Regions from separate parts of the Homo sapiens genome. Here region 1 is linked to region 2. The links are contacts of gene promoters, found by promoter capture Hi-C in human tissues and cell types (Jung and others, 2019). All regions are on one chromosome and are shown on one strand. Each heading gives the region's core, a stretch centred on a gene start or on the middle of the fragment in contact. The rest is flanking DNA. Distances are from core to core; before and after follow the strand shown. Region 1 overlaps SKAP1 (src kinase associated phosphoprotein 1). Region 2 holds the start of HOXB9 (homeobox B9).

What was found. The method cuts DNA at HindIII sites, captures the fragments that hold promoters and counts their contacts. A contact is called where the count stands out against the background at its distance.
Region 1: a fragment that was not itself captured here is called in contact with the fragment with the promoter of HOXB9 in region 2 in 4 of the 25 tissues and cell types used here (H1 embryonic stem cells, mesenchymal stem cells, pancreas and 1 more).

Annotation. Positions count from the first base shown.
Region 1 is chr17:48,398,405-48,404,794 of GRCh38, reverse strand. All of the region lies in intron 1 of SKAP1 (src kinase associated phosphoprotein 1), which reads left to right. Among named protein-coding and RNA genes, the nearest start is that of SKAP1, 29 kb to the left of the region's middle. The HindIII fragment of the contact is 6,433 bases long and covers 1-6,001 here.
Region 2 is chr17:48,621,149-48,627,641 of GRCh38, reverse strand. It overlaps HOXB9 (homeobox B9), which reads left to right and starts at 1,284. Exons shown (of 2, transcript NM_024017.5): 1 at 1,284-1,889; 2 at 4,507-6,486. The coding sequence starts at 1,373. The coding sequence ends at 4,742. RefSeq lists a silencer at 188-343 and an enhancer at 1,754-2,431. The HindIII fragment of the contact is 6,922 bases long and covers 1-5,074 here.

The DNA of each region.
Region 1 (6,390 bases), core at 1,536-4,035, 220 kb after region 2:
AAATTTTTGCTTTTAATACAGAAGTCTAACTTTTCACTATTGTCATCTTATTTTATGAGTTCCACTTTTATGCTATTTTGCTTTTCTTTTTTCTATATTTTATTATATTGAATATTTTAAAAACCTTTAATTCTACTTTTATTACATTTACACTTCAAAAAATCATAATTAAACCCATTGTCTTTAATTATCACTGTCAAGGATGAAGTAGTATCCATTGACCCTATGTAAATGTGTAATTTAGTATATATTTTCCTCTCTATTCATTTTCTAACTAGGAATTAGACTATTTTTACATTTTTTACATTGTCTCGCCATACGAATTTTTGTTTTGGTTTTGTTTCTATAGAGTTTCACCCTTCTTGCCCAGGCTGGAGTGCAATGGCATGATCTTAGCTCACTGCAACCTCCACCTCCTGGGTTCCAACAATTCTCCTGCCTCAGCCTCGGGAGTAGCTGGGATTACAGGCATGTGCCACTACGCCCGGCTAATTTTGTATTTTTAGTAGAGATGGGGTTTCTCCATGTTGGTCAGGCTGGTCTTGAACTCCCAACCTCAGGTGATCCGCCCGCCTCGGCCACCCAAAGTGCTGGGATTACAGGTGTCAGCCACCTCACCCAGCCAAGAATTATTTTTGATATTAATATTTTTATAAATTTTAAACCATGTAGACCACAGTGATTTCTATTTTTTTTTTTTTTTTCCGAGACAGAGTCTCACTCTGTCTCCCAGGCTGGAGTGCAGTGGCGCAATCTCAGCTCACTGCACTCTCCGCCTCCCAGGTTCAAGGGATTCTCCTGCCTCAGCCTCCCAAGTAGCAAGGATTACAGGTGTCCGCCATCATGCCTGGCTAATTTTTTTATATTTTTAGTAGAGATGGGTTTTCGCCATATTGGCCAGGCTGGTCTCAAACTCCTGACCTCAAGTGGTCTGCCCGCCTCTGCCTCCCAAAGTGCTGGGATTACAGGCGTTACCCACTGTGCCCGGCTGTGATCTAGATTTAACTTGTTTTGCAGTTTGACATTTATCACCACCTCTTTCTCTTTGTGGATCAGAACATATACTTCAGAAGATTTTCTCCTTCTATATGGCCAAACCAACATCTTGACTATGCTTGGAATTCTTAGAGCACACCATTTTTCCTTTAAAACTTTGTACACGTCTCATCTTCTGATGCTTATTTTGTAGCAAGGCCATTTTGATTTTGTTGTTCTTGTTGCTGTTGTTCTGTAGGTGTCTTATTTTTTCTCTCTGGGTGCTTGAGAGATGTTTTCACTTTCCTTGAAATTTTGAAAGCTCAAAAGGATATGTGTAGGTGTTGTTATTTATACACACACACACACTGATACATATATATATATGTATATATATTTTAACTATGATTTTCAAAGTGTAAATGTAATAAAAAATATTCAATATAGTATTTTGAGACAGAGTCTTGCACTGTCACCCAGCTGGAATGCAGTGGGTTAATCACCGCTCTCTGCAACCTTGAACTCCTGGGCTCAATGGATCCTACTGTCTCAGCCTCCCAAGTAGCTACAGGCGTGCACCACCATGTCCAGTTAATTAAAAACTTTTTTTTTTTTTTTTTGTAGAGACAGGGTCTTGATTTTTGCCCAGGCTTGTCTTGAACTCCTGGGCTCAAGCAGTTCTCCTACCTTGGCTTCCCAAAATGCTGAGATTACAGGTATTTATTTATTTTTTTAAACAGCTTCATTGAGATATAATTCACATACTATACAACTCACACATTTAAAGCATACAACTCAATGGCTTCTAGTATATTCACAGAATTGTGTAACTATCACCACAGTAAATTTTAGAACATTTTCATTACACCGAAAGAAAACCTGAACCTCTTAGCCTTCACTCTCCAATCCCTCTTCCTGACTTTCTTTATCTACTTTCTGTCTCTTTAGATCTGCCTATTCTATACATTTCATGTAAATGGAATCATACGATATGTGGTCCTTTGTGACTGGCTCCTTTCACTTAGCATAATGATTTTAAAGATTCATCCATGTTGTAGCACATATCAGCATTTCATTTCCTTTTATTGCTGAATAATATTCCATTGTATGCTACATTTTATCTATCCATTCATCAGTTAATGGATATTTGGGTTGTTTCCACTTTTTAGCTATTAAGAATAATGCTGCTATGCCAGGCATGGTGGCTCACGCCTGTAATCCCAGCAATTTGGGAAGCCAAGGCAGGCAGTTTGCTTGAGTCTAGGAGTTCAAGACCAGCCTGGGCGAAGTGATGAAACCCCATCTCTACTAAAAATACAAAAATTAACCCAGCATGGTGGCATGCACCTGTAATCCCAGCTACTTGGGGGGCTGAGGCACGAGAATCACTTGAATCCGGGAGGCAGAGGTTGCAGTGAGCTGAGATCGCACCACTGCCCTCCAGCCTGGGCAATAGAGCGAGACTCTGTCTCAAAAAAAAAAAAAATGCTGCTATGAATATTTGTGTAAAGTTTTTGTGTCAGCACCTGTTTTCATTTCTTTTGGGTATTTCCTAGTAATATAATTTCTGGATCCTATGATAATTCTCTGTTTAGCCTTTTGAGGAACTGCTAGATTATTTTTCTAAGTGGCTGCACTGTTTTACATTCCTACCAGCAATGTATAAGGTTTCCAATTTTTCTACATTTTCAACAACATTCATTGTTGTTCTTTTCGCCTGTAACCATTCTAGTGGGTGTGAAGTGGTATTTCATGATTTTGATTTGCATTTCCCTGATGGCTAGTGATATTGAACATCTTTTAATGTGCTTATTGGTCATTTGTGTATCTTCTTTAGAGATATGTCTATTCAGTTCCTTTTCTCATTTTTCAGTTGGGCTATTTGTCTTATTATTACTGAAATATAAGAGTTTTAATATATTCTACATACAAGTCTTTCATCAGCTATATGATTTGCAAAAGCTTTTCTCTCATTCTGTGGGTTATCCTTTTGCTTTCTTGTTGGCCTTCTTTGAAGCACAATAGCTTTTAAATTTGATGATGCCTTGTTTGTCTATTTTTGTATTTGGTTGCTTTTTTTTTCTTGGTGTCATATCTAAGAAACCATTACCTAATCCAAGGACCCAAAGATTTACACCTGTCTTTTTCTAAGAGTTTCATAGTTTTAGCTCTTATATTTAGGTCTTTGATCCATTTTTAGTTAATTTTTTTATATGGTGTGAGGTAGGAATCCAACTTCATTCTTTTGCATGTGTATACTCAGTTGTCTCAGCACCATTTGTTGAAAAAACAACTTTTTCAACATTTAATTGTCTTGACCCTCTTGCAAAAATTGACCATAAGTGTGAGGGTTTATTTCTGGATTCCCAATTCTATTCCTTTGAACTTTATCTCTGTCCTTATGCCAGTACCATATTTTCCTAATTGCTGTAGTTTTGTGGTAAGTTTTGAAGTCAGAAAGTGTGAGTCCTCCAAATTTGTCTTTCTTTTTCTTTCCTTTTTTTTTTCTTTTTTGAGACAGAGTCTTGCTCTGTTGCCTAGGTTGGAGTGCAGTGGCATGATCTCGGCTCACTGCAACCTCGGCCTCCCAGGTTCAAACAATTATTCTGCCTCAGCCTCCCAAGTGGCTGGGATTACAGGCACTAGCCACCACACTCAGCTAATTTTTGTATTTTTAGTAGAGACAGGGTTTCTCCGTGTTGACCAGTCTGGTCTTGAACTCCTGACCTCAGGTGATCCACCCGTCTCAGCCTCCCAAAGTGCTGGGATTACGAGTGTGAGCCAACACGCCCGGCCATTGTCTCTCTTTTTCAAAATTGTTTTGGCTATCTGGATTCCTTACATTTCCAAGTTAATTTTAGGATTAGCTTTTCAATTTCTACAAAAAAAGCCAGCTGGGATTTTGATAGGGGTTACATAAAAGCTTTAGATCAGTTTGGGGAGTATTGCCATTTTAACGATATTAAGTCTTCTGATCATGAACATAGAATATGTTCTATTTATTCGTAAGTGCTTAATTCTTAATTCTTTTACCTGCTTTATTTCTTTTCTTTTTTTTTAATTTTTATTTTTGAGATAAGGTCTTGCTCTGTCACCCAGCCTGGAGTGCAGTGATGTGATCTCAGCTCACTGCAGCCTCAACCTCCCTGGGCTCAAATGAGGCCACCTTAGCCTCCTGAGCAGCTGGGACCACAGATGTGCACCACCATGCCTGGCTAATTTTTGTATTTTTTGTAGAGGCGGGGTTTCATCATGTTGACCAACTCCTGGGCTCAAATGATCTGCCCGCCTTGGCCTCCCGAAGTGCTGAGAATAATCCCAAGCATGGACCACCATGCCCATCCTACATGCTATCTTAAATGGAATTTTATTAATGTCCTTTTTGTTTGTTCATTGCCACTATATAGAAATACAGTTGATTGGCTGGGCGTGGTGGCTCACACCTGTAATCCCAGCACTTTGGGAGGCCCAGGCGGGTGGATCACCTGAGGTCAGGAGTTTGAGACCAGCCTAGCTAACGAGGAGAAACCCTGTCTCTACTAAAAATACAAAAATTAGCCAGGTGTGGTGGTGCGTGCCTGTAGTCCCAGCTACTCAGGAGGCTGAGGCAAGAGAATTGCTTGAACCCAGGAGCCAGAGGTTGCAGTGAGCTGAGATCGCGCCACTACACTCCAGCCTGGGAGGCAGAGTGAGACTCCGTCTCAAAAAAAAAAAAAAAGAAAAGAAAAAAGAAATACAGTTGATTTTTTTACATTGATCTTATATCCTGCAAAGTTGCTGAACTCTTTTATTAGTTTTAATAGTTTTTTAATAGATTCCTTAGGGTGTTCCATATACAGGATGTCATCTGCAAATAGAAATAGTTTTACTTCTTCCTTTCCAGTTTGAATGCTTTTTATTTCATTTTCTTGCTTAGTTGTCCTGGCTGGCATCACCTGTACAATGTTCAGTATAAGTGGTGAGAACAGACATCCTTATCTTATTCCTGATCTAAGGAACGTGGGGAAAGTGTTCAGTCTTTGACCATTTATTTTCTTTTTAATTTTTTTTTTTTTTTGAGACAAGAGTCTTGCTCTGCCACCCAGGCTGGAGTGGCACAGTCATGGCTCACTGCAGCCTCAACCTTCCAGGCTCAAGTGATCCTCCCACTTGAACCTCTTGAGTAGCTAGGACTACAGGCATGCACCACAATGCCCAGCCAATTTTTTAAAAATTATCTTTTGTAGAGATGGAATCTCTCTATATCATCTAGGCTAGTCTCAAAACTTCTGCCCTTAAGTGATCCTCTTGCCTCGGCCTCCCAAAAGGTTGGGATTACAGGCACGAGCCACCATGACTGGCCAGTCTTTAATCATTAAGTACAATGTTAGCTGTGGGTTTGTGTTGATGCTTTTTATTAGTTTGAGGAAGCTTCCTTCTATTCCTAGTTTGTTGAGAATTTTTATCACGAAAGGCTGTTGACTTTTGTTAAATGCTTCTTCTGTGTCTAGTGAGATGATCATGTGGTTTTTTTCCTTTATTCTATTGTTATGATATATTACATAAATTGAATCTTAGATGTCATTTATTTTTGCCTTTTAATTCAGCTTCCCATTTCCTCATTCGTTAGCATTCAAAGGACCCTAGTGGAACCCATTAAATCACATATGCAATAGATACAATGCAGAGCTTGGATGTTGATGGTGGTCCTTTGTGAAATATTCAATTTCCAGGACTTTGTATCTCATCAAAAGTCCTAGCGATGGCTATTTAGGATTTTTTGTTTGGTGGTTTTTTTTGTTTGTTTGTTTGTTTCTTTTTGAGACGGAGTCTTGCTCTGTCTCCAGGCTGTAGTGCAGTGATGCAATCTCAGCTCACTGCAACCTCCAACTCCCTGGTTCAAGTGATTCTCCTGCCTCAGCCTCCCAAGTAGCTGGGTCTACAGGGGTGTGCCAGCATGCCCAGCTAATTTTTGTATTTTTAGAGAGACGGGGGGTTTCACCATGTTGGCCAGGATGGTCTCAATCTCCTGACCTCATGATCCGCCCGCCTTGGCCTCCCAAAGTGCTGGGATTACAGGCGTGAGCCACCCGCCTTGGCCTCCCAAAGTGCTGAGATTACAGGCGTGAGCCACCACGCCCGGCCTGGCGTTGTTAAATGACGTGAATATAAAACAAATTTTTAGGTGTGCTTATCCAACTATATAAATTCATAGCAATATTTTGATAGTATGTATCAGGGGTCCCCAACCTTTTTGGCACTGGGGACTGGTTTCATGGAAGACAATTTTTCCATGGACCGGGGGTGGGGGGATGGTTTGGCGATGATTAAAGAGCATTAGATTTATTATGCACTTTATTTCTATTATGATTACATTGTAATATATAATGAAAAAATTATACAACTCACCATAATGTAGAATCAGTGGGAGGCTTG
Region 2 (6,493 bases), core at 35-2,534:
CCCTATATCGGTGTTTGGAAATCTCCAGAGCAGGAGCCTCAGGTGAGAGGAGTAGTACAGGAGGGCTGAAAACTCAGCCCAGGCTCCTTCCTCTTTGGATGGAAGGGGAGATAACTTGGGACCCCTTCCCTTGCTGACTGGGGATCCTTTCCCAGGCCTCTGCTCTGGTCACACCTCAGGAAAGTGGCCTTAACCCTTTCTCCTATTTAGCTCCCTCATCAGGGCAAATTTAGGGGCCTGGGTGGTTATTCAGTGGAGAAAAGGAGAAATGGCTTCCCTCACCCCCACCCCCCACGTCACCACCACCATCTTAAATCCATCCTTCTGGCCAGAGTCAGAGAAAGGCCCAATAAATGTAAAGGCGCTCTGGTTCCTTGTATTAAACTCTTTCCTAGGCTCACGTTTCCGGGACCTGATGGATCCCTTTAACCTCAAGTAGTTTCTAATTTCAGGACAGATAGTGGATTCTTGGACACTCAGTCGTTTTATTCACCTCTCTCCTCCTCCCTCAGCTACTGAGGGGCCCAGGGAAGCTCGCAGTCATGTAAATCTCTACAAAGAGTGCAAGGAGAGCCCCCTCCAAAGCGGACAACGTCCTAAAATCCCCAACTTTTCCCCTCATCATTTTACTTCATCTCCTGTGGATTGCTGCTGCTGTTGTTGTTTAATAAACATCTTTTGTCAAGGGGAAAGAGAAGAGGAAATGAGGGCCTGCGGGGTGGAGGTGTGTGTGGGGGGACAGGAGCACCTCCTCTTCCAGTATCCTCTCGGGCCTCTATGGCTTCTCCCCGGGCTGGGGCTCTCTCCCTCCCTCCGCCCTTGCTCTCCCTCCCTCCCCGACCCGCCTGGGGAGAGGGCTCTACAGCCTGCGTCCCTCCCAAGGCAGCCCGCCGCTTCCCTCCGCCTCTCCTCCGCCCCCGCCGCCCCATGTTGAGAACTGCCCCCCTTCCTGCAGCGGGAGGGGGGGACCGGGCGGCCGGTAGCTGGGGCTGAGGTTACGTGGCCGCCGGAGCCCTGACGTGATAGCACATTGCATCAGCATAAAACAATCCATCCTCGATATGGAGTGCGGTGCGGACGGATGACAGCGAGAGCGCAGCCCCCTCGCCCGATTGATTTATGTCGGAGCTGACGCTTTATCAGGCAGTCGGAAAAACTTTGACCAATCATTTTGCAAGGAGAGCTGAGACGGGCTGCTCCACTGTACTTTGTTGGCTGAGAAGTTGAGCAGGGGGTGGGGGTGGGAGGGTGGGGGGCTGGGGGGGTCGCGTCCGAAAGCCCTCACACCGGTCCGGGTGCCACCTCTCCCTGCTTGGGCGCCGCCGCGCGAGCGCTTCCCTTCCCCCTGCAAGCGCCCGGATAATGTCTGAGAATGTCCATTTCTGGGACGCTTAGCAGCTATTATGTCGACTCGATCATAAGTCACGAGAGTGAGGACGCGCCTCCAGCCAAGTTTCCTTCTGGCCAGTACGCGAGCTCGCGGCAGCCGGGCCACGCGGAGCACCTGGAGTTCCCCTCGTGCAGCTTCCAGCCCAAAGCGCCGGTGTTCGGCGCCTCCTGGGCGCCGCTGAGCCCGCACGCGTCCGGGAGCCTGCCGTCCGTCTACCACCCTTACATCCAGCCCCAGGGCGTCCCGCCGGCCGAGAGCAGGTACCTCCGCACCTGGCTGGAGCCGGCGCCGCGCGGCGAAGCGGCCCCGGGGCAGGGCCAGGCGGCGGTGAAGGCGGAGCCGCTGCTGGGCGCGCCTGGGGAGCTGCTCAAACAGGGCACGCCCGAGTACAGTTTGGAAACTTCGGCGGGCAGGGAGGCCGTGCTGTCTAATCAAAGACCCGGCTACGGGGACAATAAAATTTGCGAAGGAAGCGAGGACAAAGAGAGGCCGGATCAAAGTAAGTTATAAAAAGTGAGGAAATACCCAGGCCGAAGGCCAGGAGGGGGGCGGGGAGGGGAAAGGCAATAAACTGCGGACAATGTGAAGGGAAACTGCGGCGGTGGCCGGAGAGCGGGCCGGGAGGAGGAGGGGAGAGGAAGGAAAGACGGAGGGAAGGGGAAAGCTGCGTGCTCTAGAAGGGGAGACTGAGGCCGCCAGAGGAGCGCTGCCCCCACTTCTCCAAGTCCTGCGGGGAACAGGGGCTCGGGGATCGACTTGCAGCTCTCTCGGCCCTCTTTCCCCCTCTCTCCCGGAGGCCCCAGCTGAAAGCCCGGCCAGAGACCGGCGACGGCCGGGAGAGGAGCTGGCGGGGGCCGGGGCCAGCGGCCAGCGAGGCCGAGAGCCGGCGAGGGCAAGGGCCGGAGCGCACTGGGCTGCCCGGGGCCGTGCGGCTGGCAGAGCTCCCCGCGCCACGCGCAGACCGTAAAAGCCGGCCAAGGGGAAGGGGGAGGGAGCTCATTAGGATTTTATTTGCGATGCAACAGCTTGGCGGAGGATTGTTCCTAGCAGATCTCGCGCTGTAGCCGCGCAGAGTCCGCAACCGGCGACAGGAGGGGCGGGGGAAGCCCAGGACGCGGTGACTGAGCCCCCTCCCCGGATGCGCCGGCCCCTCCCCGGGAGCCTTCCCTCCGGTGGCCCCTCTCCTCCTCGGCGTCCTCGCAGGGGCTACCGCTTCCTTTTCTGCGGTCCCCCGCTGCTCTCTGCGGGGCTCCCGAGCCCCAGCCCGGGCTGTCCGCCTCTTGGGGAGTCGGGGAATCGCTTCCGAATATCGGGGCATCTCGAAGGGACCCCGGGGAGAGGAGGGGTGGGGGGAAGAGAGAGTTGCAGAGAGGCGGAGAACTTTACCCTTTGTGGGTAGTTTCCCGTCACCTCCCACTCCTCAAAAGCACCCCGGCCAGAACGCCAAGTCTGGCTGATTTTCAGGAGGTGCTACTAGATGAGAAGAGAGGGTTCTCCTATTATTTATTTTTAAGGTTGAGAAGGGCTCATCGGTGAGGGAACTCAGCCTCAAACAATGACTCGCAGGCTGGTGGATCAGGTCCTCGTTTCTTACTCTTTTTGGGAAGTAGGGATGTTTTAGTCTCTCCTTGCCCTGCTAGATTTCCCATTGACGGAGTGGCCCCAGGGCCCTTTAGAGCATCCTTGCCTGCTGGAGAGTAAAGAGCAGCCCCATTCCTTGCAGGGTCCTGTCACCTCCAACCTGCCAGGTGGAATCCTAAGAGCTGGCATTTAGGGAACACATTCTTCCCCAACCCTCCCCGCACACTCCCAAACAGATCCCCCACCCTAAACCCCCAAATTCTGCCTGAAAAGCCCATTATGGCAAGGCAGCCATTTGGCTAGGATCAATTATTAACAGTTTTTTCCCTCTTTCATATTTAATGCGGCTGCGGGTCCCATCCCAGGCAATCACATTAAGGAAATAGCGCTGCAAATTGGTAAGACACGGTACTTAGTGTAGGATGAACCAAATTTTTTATATAAAAAAATCCAGTGTTTTTCACTTGGGGAGAAGGAAGCTAGTAGCTGGTGGCTGTTATTTTTAATTGGCTTAGCTTTATTTGGCAACTTTTTTGAGTTCCAGAGTAGGGGGAGAGAAGGTAAGAAGAGAAGCCTGTATATATTTTTGTTTCCTCTCTTCCACTCGGTTACCCTCTTCTCCCCTCCAGCCCCCACATAGGATCAATTAAGGCTAGGTGTGCTGTGAAGGGCTTCCTTTTACCTCCACATCACCCCTGGCTCCCCACCTTGGGACTGGAGCAATTTTATTCCCTAATTTCCCTGCACTTGCGTTAACCAAACTGTGAGCTGAGCAGGAGCTGAAAAGGAGAGAGACTATTGCAACCATAAGTTATCTGTGAGCCCCCAGTGCTCCCCTGTCCATAAGCTGGAGTTGATAAATGGTTGCAATTGCATTGCGTGTGAATTGGAGTGTGCTGGCTGTTTGTGGCTCTAAGTGCAGACCCATATTCGTGGTGTGTGGTGGTGGCAGGGGGGGAGATTTCTACGCAGACACACATGCCTGCTGCCATGTGGTCTAGAGACACAAGCTTGTTTGTGATCAAGGCAGGGGATATTGGGACTGGACTGAAGGGCTGAGAGGTCTCTTGGGGTGAAGTGACACCCCAAATGCAGTGACTGAACAGACATCTCACTTCCCCACCCAACTCCTCCTCTCACCTCCTAGAGCCAGGACCCTTCAGGTCAGCCACCCACCCCTAGTCAGCCTGGGAGTGCTGCTGGTGGGACTTCAACCATGCTGAACTCTGACCTGAGTCCTAAGCAGTTTGGACCCAAGTAGAGAAAAATTGAGAGGGAACTTGATGTAGGCAGAGCTTTGGAAGTGCTGAGGAAGCCTGGGCCCACGTTTGGCTCCATCCTTTCCACACAGCCTCTCACCTGGAGGTGTCTATAGCAATGGCTGGCCCATCTGTGACACCCTTCCTGGGAGCTTGAAGACCCAGGTGGCCTCTTCTCCAGTGCAAGATGGGGAGTGGAGACCAAGGGAGTGCCCTCTTGATCTGGGGCCCTTCACCCCCTTCCTTTCTTTGATTCTATCGCTGCTTCTCTTTCAGCCAACCCCTCCGCCAACTGGCTGCACGCTCGCTCTTCCCGGAAAAAGCGCTGTCCCTACACCAAATACCAGACGCTGGAGCTAGAGAAGGAGTTTCTGTTCAATATGTACCTCACCAGGGACCGTAGGCACGAAGTGGCCAGACTCCTCAATCTGAGTGAGAGACAAGTCAAAATCTGGTTTCAGAACCGGCGGATGAAAATGAAGAAAATGAATAAGGAGCAGGGCAAAGAGTAAAGATTAAAGATTACCCCCAGTCCTCCCTAGCTCTTCCCCATCTCACTCTTAGTTATGTGACGACTGCAAAGCCAGTGCTGTCTGGGATGTATTCAAGTGAATGGGGAAGGGAGTCTCTCTTCCAAGTCCTTTATCTGCACCTAGAACCTCCCTCCTTTCCTTTGCCCTTACCTGTCTCTCTCTTCTCTCTAGGTGTCAGGAGAAAGTTTTGTTGATTTAGAAGATAGAAATAGTTGGTTCCTAAGAATGTGATGGGCCACAAGGAAAGAGAGACCCCAGTCAAGCTCCTAGTATGCCCTGTAATTTTTCTGGGAAGTCCTAGCCCCTCACTTCCAGCTTGCCTGTTTCTTCTCTACACCCACCCAAAAGTCACCCAGGGACACTCCAACTCTACACAGCTCAGCAGACATCCACACACAGTAATGGGGTGAGCTCACAACCACCATTCAGTCAAGTGAGGTGACACTCCAGTTGCAGACCATCGCACACCAAATTTGGCAAAACAGCCCTCAGACTGTCAGGCAAGCCCGGGTTCTACCCCTAATGCAAATACCCACCAGGGAGATGTCTAGAGGCAGACTCCTGAGTGAGGTGTTGCAGCCCAAAGGCTGCAGCATTGCCATACCATTCCCATGGAGTTGCCAACTATTCTCAGGCCAAGGGCCATGGGGAAGATGGAGCAAACCTAGCCCCCAAGCCGGTGGGCTAGAAAGTACAAGAAAAGGCAGCACGTGGTTTTATGAAGCTATCTTAGGTGGAGCTACTCCCCACCTCCCACCAACATATACATTTTGTTGCAGGAAATGTTTAATTCCGCATGATGTTTCCCTCTCCTTCCAACAAAAGAAGGTCAAACTGTGGGTCGTAGAGCCTTGACAATGTTGTCCTCCTGTTCATCTGTGCACCACTTGACAGACTGTAGCTTCTCTTGCTCTCGACCGGCCCTGCATTCTTCCGCACCCTCCCTAGCTCTGAAATCAACTCTCTTCGGTCGTATCCACCTTGCACCCGCAAGTCAAGCCGCCCCTTGTAGAAAAATCCCTCCACCTTCCGTTCCCCGCTAGGTCAACCCCACTGTAGACAGGAAAGCCAGGCCAGGAGAGTCCGAATGAGAATTTATTGTGAATCGATTCCCAAGCTCCCTTCCGGGACAAGTGGTCTGGGACAGGGAGGAGCAACGGCCCCAGCGCGCAACGCTCTGCGCGTTCCTCCGAATCCCGTCGGCTTCTCGACCCACGCAGAGAAGCCCCGGGCTTGGCGGCTCTAGCCCCAGCGCCAAAGGAGACCCGCCCCAGGGCCGGGCTTGGCCTCCTGCTTCATGGGCCTGGATGCAGATCTGCGTGGCTGGTGCGTGCGCGCGCTTCTGGGAAACAGTCCCGCGTGCAAAGGAAAGGGGCAAAATGGCACCTAAGCATCAGATGGAAGCTTACTCTCTGCTTCCGTTCCTCCCCCTGCTCCCCTACTTCTCAGTCCCCTTCAATTTGTAGACTCTTGCTCCTGCTTCTCCTGATCCTGCAAGGGGACATTCCAGTAGAAGTTTTTTGCTTTGTCGGTGGCTGTCGTGAAATTGTGCTTGTGTTTCGTGATTTCTTTGGGGGTGATTGTCTCGCTTGTTTTCAGTTGTCGATTATATGGGAGGGTTCTGGGTGGGAGTGGGGAGGGCGAGGGGCCTAGAGCTCTAATTGTTTGTTTTGGAAGAAAAAAAGAAAAAGAACAAAAAATATATATCACTCTAGAAAATAAATCTCTCC